2 separate regions of the Homo sapiens genome follow, and region 1 is linked to region 2. Evidence: promoter capture Hi-C in human tissues and cell types (Jung and others, 2019). All regions are on one chromosome and are shown on one strand. The core of a region is centred on a gene start or on the middle of the fragment in contact, and the rest is flanking DNA. Distances in the headings are between cores, read along the strand shown. Region 1 holds the start of LINC00887 (long intergenic non-protein coding RNA 887). Region 2 holds the start of MB21D2 (Mab-21 domain containing 2).

Region 1 (2,700 bases), core at 141-2,640, 1.4 Mb before region 2:
TATTTCATCTCTGCCCATCCCCTTATCCCCATTCCCAAACCTCCAATCTGATATTTGTGTGAGATTTCATTTGGAGGAAGGCCATGTACATAATGGTTTGGATGATGCCTGATAGCCTCCCTGGCTTTGCCAGCCCATAATTCTAAGATGGGAAGAGATGTTGCTGGGGAGAAGAGGCGGAGGCTTCTCTTCTGATTCCTGCCTGGAGCCCTGACTGCAAGGGTTGCTCCTGGCTTCCCCCATTTGAACCCCACCCCTGGCTGGCCAGTGAGGGGAGCATTCCCTACAGCCCCAGGGAGGGAGAGGCTGCCAGCGGCCAGACAGGGCATTGGGCAGATGGCACAGAGCCAGCCCAGCCAGGTGGGGAAATTGAGACCCAGAGAGGGTAAGGGACTTGCTCAAGGTCACACAACCAGACCCTGGCAGATCCCTTTCCACGCTAATTCCTCAGAAGCTCCTGCTGGGGTCTCTAGTGGGATACTTTGGACAGCCCTGTGGGAGTGGCGGCTGGGTTCCACCGGGAGTGGGGTTACTTTGAAGAACAGTAGTCTCTCCTTGAATCCAGATGAGCAGATACGGTTCCAGGGCTCAGCCTGACCCTGAGGCTGTCACAGCTGGGGCAGGGGCTGAGGGTGGAAACTGCCTCTAAGAGCTCAGAGGGCGTTTAGCCTGCCAGGCACAGAGCCTCCACCGGGGACAGAAAGCCAGGAAAAAGGTGTGGGACGTCAGTACGAATCCTGCTCCTTCCATCGTAGACTCTGAAAGTAAAGGTCCAAGCTTTGAATTGGATCTCAGCTGGGGCTGGGGGCTGGCCAAGAAGATTGGGGTGGCCACACATTTGGGCAAGTTTCCCTACTGCCTCCGCAATGCGCCTGGCCAGGGCCCAACTGGAAATCAGAGACCCATGAAACATCAGCTCAGGGAGCATCAGGGATGCATGCTCGTGCTTCAAGAGGAAGAAACCCCGAGAGGAGGCTGGGAGAGAGACTGGTCCAAGGTCACTGGACAGTGAGTGGTGGAGCTGGAGCTTGGACGTGGGCTCTGGACTCTGGATTGTGTGTCCCCGCCACTGTCCTGACATCCATGTGGACAGATGCCCTGATCCCCCTCTGCAGGGGCTGTTCTCTTTTCCTCTCTTTGGGGTGTATAATGTGTTTGTCTTTGTGTGTGTGTGTGTGTGTGTGTGTGTGTGTGTGTGTGTGTGTGTGTAGACATTTTTTATTTTGTCTCTTTACCTCCAAATCCTATCTGCTTCATAAAACTCAGAGAAAAAGTCTATAAGCTCAGTCACCCATTCCAGGATCGCTGTCAGGAAATCCTCGTTCCCATCTCACCCGCATCCCCCACGCTGGAGCTTAAGTCCTTCCAGGTGGGGCTGGCAAGAGTCTGCGGGACTTACTCCAAGAGCCCCGGGGAAGCGGGCTGGGCTGTTTGGGGAGGAATGCTCACCCGGCAGTGTGCAGGCCTGGCAGGGCTGCCTCTAAACCCAAATTGCAGTCCCCAAGCACGTGCGCTTGCTCTGCCTGAGATCTCCAATGATGCTGCTTTGGCGGGAGTACTGATTCTAGCCAGTGATTTATCATCTGTTTACTCAGAGAAACTGCTTGTTCATTTCTGCTGGTGGGAAGGGAAGGAGGGAGGGAGGGAGGTGAACGTGTGTCCTGTGAGCTGCAGAGGTAGCCGGCAGGGATGACTTATACACTCCCCTCGATGGGTGACCTCCATTCACTCTTCCTCCCCGCCTCTCCGCCTGATGAGAAACAGAATGTGCTCCCTCCCCCCTGGGAGGCTTCAGATTCATTTTCTGCTCAGACACCGTTGCTTGCAAAATTCCACCCAGAAGATAAGGGAGGGAGTATCGCTGCAGCGTCCTGCTCTGTGCCTGGTTATATTACTGGATCCTTGTGTTGCAGCCCTAAGATAGAAGGATTGTCTCCATTTCACAGATGAGAGAGAACTGATGCGCAGGAGGCTGAAATTGTCTGAAGTCACACAGCAGGTGGGTAGAGCTGGGACCCAACCCCCGTCAGGCTGGTGCCAACTTCATGCTCTTGGAGCAGTGTTTCTCCAAGTGTGCATCTCGAACCACCTGCATTAATTATAGTTACTTCTTCCTTCAGTCTCTGTTGTTTTCAACAGGGAGTTACTGACCTAGGCATGGCTCCAGGCTCATGGGATTCAGCAATGAGGAAGACAGGTCCTGGCCAAAGGAGGCCAAGAACAAACAAGTATAAGCAATAAGTCAGCCGGGTGCTGTGGCTCATGCTTGTAATCCCAACACTTTGGGAGTCTGAGGTGGAAGGATCACTTGAGCCCAGGAGTTCGAGACCAGCCTGGGCAACATGGTGAAACCACATCTCTACCAAAATATACAAAAATTAGCTGAGTGTGGTGGTGCACCTGTAGCCCCAACTGCTTGAGAGCCTGAGGTAGGAGGATTGTCTTAGCCCAGGAGGTTGACACTGCAGTGAGCCGTAATTGTGCCACTGCACTCCAGCCTGGGCGACAGAGAGAGACCCTGTCTCAAAAAAAAAAAAATTAAAAAGAAACAAGTCAATATCTAACAGGTGAGAGCACTAGGGGGAAAAGGAGAGCAGGGTGAGGTGCTGGGGAGTGACGAGGTTGTATGTGTGTTGCAATTTTAGATAGAGTGGTCAGGATAAACCTTACACAGGTGACATTTGGACTGAGACTTCAAAG
Region 2 (2,700 bases), core at 11-2,510:
AACCTATGTTTCTCACAGCCAATGGGCCTCCTAAGTGTTTGAATGATACACCCCATAAACACTAAAACCACCTCTGAGACTCTATTCTGCCTAAAGGACTATGACTTAGATTGAACCTGCCTTGTCATGTAAGCCTAACTCCATGGTAGGAGCCATGTCTTTTGGTTATCACTGTCACATTCTGTCACTCCATCTGGCAAATGGTGCGTACTCAAATTTTATCTGTTGAATGAGAAAATTTTCATCTTGTCATCCAACATTTCTTGGAACCTGGGGCAATACATTGTTTCCCCTCTCCCACACCCACACTTCAGTTTCCCTATCTTTATATTAGAGTAGGTTGAATCTCATTAACTCATTATATGTTAAGATAAATAAGCTGTTATTCAGGTCATTAATTACCTTGGGCAAAGGTAGGGATATCTAGGGGTTAGTGGGAGTGCCAATACTGGGTTAGATGTGGACCCTCTTTTTTTATACGCTCAATCCTATCATCTTGGCAATCCAAGAGGAAAAGGGTAGAAGACAGGTTTCATATTCCTTAAGGCAGTTTCCTTTACTATTTAAAGGTATTGGAGTTCTTGGGATAGAGAGGTAAACGCGCACAGAGATGTCCTCCCCCAGGACACCGCCCTTAAAATCAAACGGAGGAAGACTTTCTTCTCCTTGAATGCGCTTGGCAAACCCTGCCCAGAAAGGGGATGGGGGGACGGCCGTGGAGGTGGAGAAAGAATGCATCCACACCTCGCGCGTCTTCCCAAGTACGGATTGGCAAGTGGTATATGCGTGCAGACCTCTGTCATTTATTTATTTTCCTTTCCACTGGGTGCGCTGTCCCTTTAAATGGAGACGCTGGTGCTGGCTCCGTAACACCGGAGCCGGCAGCTTGTTGATTTCAGAGCTGGTGAATTTCACATTGTTTCCACTTCACTTTCCTCGCCCGGGGGAGGCTCCAGTTGGCTCTACGACCGCCGTTGCCGCTGCCAGAGAGGGCCAGGGCAGGGCAGGGACGCGCAGCATCGGGGCGGGCGTGGGGCCGGAGAAAAGGGTGTCGGGGCCACACACGCACCCTCGCTGCAGTCCAGCTCCTCCCGAAGCTCGCACGCCCAGAGCGCACGGAGCGGGGGACTGCCCGCCCAGACGCCCGCCCGCCAACCCGCCCACGAGCCGGGGCCAAAGCCTGGGAGCCTGCGAGGGGAGGAGGCCCAGGGGGGCGGGGTGGGGGGCGGGGGTGGGTGCCGCGCTGCCGCGGAGCTGCTACTCGGCGCGTTTTGCATGAAGATGGCGGCTCCCACCGCCAACAAGGCAGCCTCCCTGGGCTGTAACAACAAGCCTGCGTTCCCGGAGCTGGATTTCAGGTCGGGAGCTCGGGTGGAGGAATTGAACAAACTCATCCAAGAATTTACGAAGCACGACCAGCGGGAATACGACGACCAGAGAGCGCTGGAGATTCACACAGCCAAGGATTTCATCTTTTCCATGCTGGGTAAGGAGGAAAAAGGGGGAGGTGTGTGTGCGTGTGTGTGTGTGATGGGAAGCGGAGTAGAAAACCCATTGCCGCTTCTCGACCTCTTCCCTTCTGGGTTGCCTTCCCGAGCCGGTGCCTTGGGTATAAGCCATCTCTGTTCCGCCTCTCTCTTCTTTCTCCGCCGAAAGCCGAGCTGCCTGCCCTCCCCTCCTTACTATACTTTACGCCGGGTCTCCCTTTCCCCCTGTTCGCTTGCTCTTTTGTTAATTTCTCCGCCACCTGGGGCTGGCAGGCAGGTGAGGCGTTCGCGGTGAAGCGTTGCACTGTTGGGGGAAGCCCCTGGAAGCGAGTGCAGTCCAGGTGAGCCCCTGAGGTGCCTTCAGTTGAGGGATTTGGCTGCCGGAGGCAGGGACCTCCGCTTTCCCGACGCCGGCTCTTGGGTGCTCTCCCGAGCTTGGGAGCGGAGACGGCTCAGGGCTCTGGCTTGGCGCCCGAGCGACAAGTTGCTTCTGTCGTCTCGCGGCGCGGCGCTGTCATGCCGAGCCCCCGGTGGCCAAACTTGTTGGGTGTTCCCGAGTAACCCGCTGAAGTAGTCTAGGCGTCCGGAGTTCCTGCAACTTTGATTTGCAAATTGACTTCTCTTATGAAGCGATCGGAAGCATTTCCGGTGCTTCTTCAGGGCTCTCGCTGAGCTCGGAATTCTTAATTCCCAGCTCTTCCGTGACTAGGCGCGGAGCTCTGGCCGCAGAGGAGCGCCGGTTCCCTGCTCTTTGTGTATTGTCTTAGCGCTGGCCGAAAGAGGTGCCCAGAGTTTCCAACCGCGGAGACGTCGGGGGCTAGAAAATGTGTCCCCCACTCCCACCTCCAGCCCCTCACCTACGGCTCCTGAAACATGATTGAATGCTGTGTAAAGGAACATAATTGAGCCAGGCCCGGGAGACCGAGCCCACCCTCCCCAGGTGTCCTGCCGTTGGGATTATTGCTACTGAGGTGTAGTGTGAGTTTGCCAGGCGCCTGGGTTGTAACTTGCGGCTCCGCCAGCGGATCCGTGGCTGTCAAGCGGTGCGTGGCCGGCGGTCAACATTCCGAAGAACTGGTACTCCAGGGTAGCGCTGCTCTAACGCTCGTCTCTGGGTGCTCTCTACAAATAGATAAGCCAATTTTCCAGGTGTTGAAAAATTTGATTGGGAAAGGTCTTTTGGCCACAGACTAAGACAGGGCTTTTCTCTTTC

The links. The method cuts DNA at HindIII sites, captures the fragments that hold promoters and counts their contacts. A contact is called where the count stands out against the background at its distance.
Region 1: a contact is called between a fragment that was not itself captured here and the fragment with the promoter of MB21D2 in region 2, in 1 of the 25 tissues and cell types used here (dorsolateral prefrontal cortex).

What each region holds. Positions count from the first base shown.
Region 1 is chr3:194,311,900-194,314,599 of GRCh38, reverse strand. LINC00887 (long intergenic non-protein coding RNA 887) reads left to right here and starts at 1,796. Exons shown (of 3, transcript NR_024480.1): 1 at 1,796-1,999. The HindIII fragment of the contact is 5,116 bases long and covers 1-2,700 here.
Region 2 is chr3:192,916,416-192,919,115 of GRCh38, reverse strand. It overlaps MB21D2 (Mab-21 domain containing 2), which reads left to right and starts at 1,260. Exons shown (of 2, transcript NM_178496.4): 1 at 1,260-1,486. The coding sequence starts at 1,276. RefSeq lists a silencer at 955-1,314 and an enhancer at 1,965-2,294. The HindIII fragment of the contact is 14,649 bases long and covers 1-2,700 here.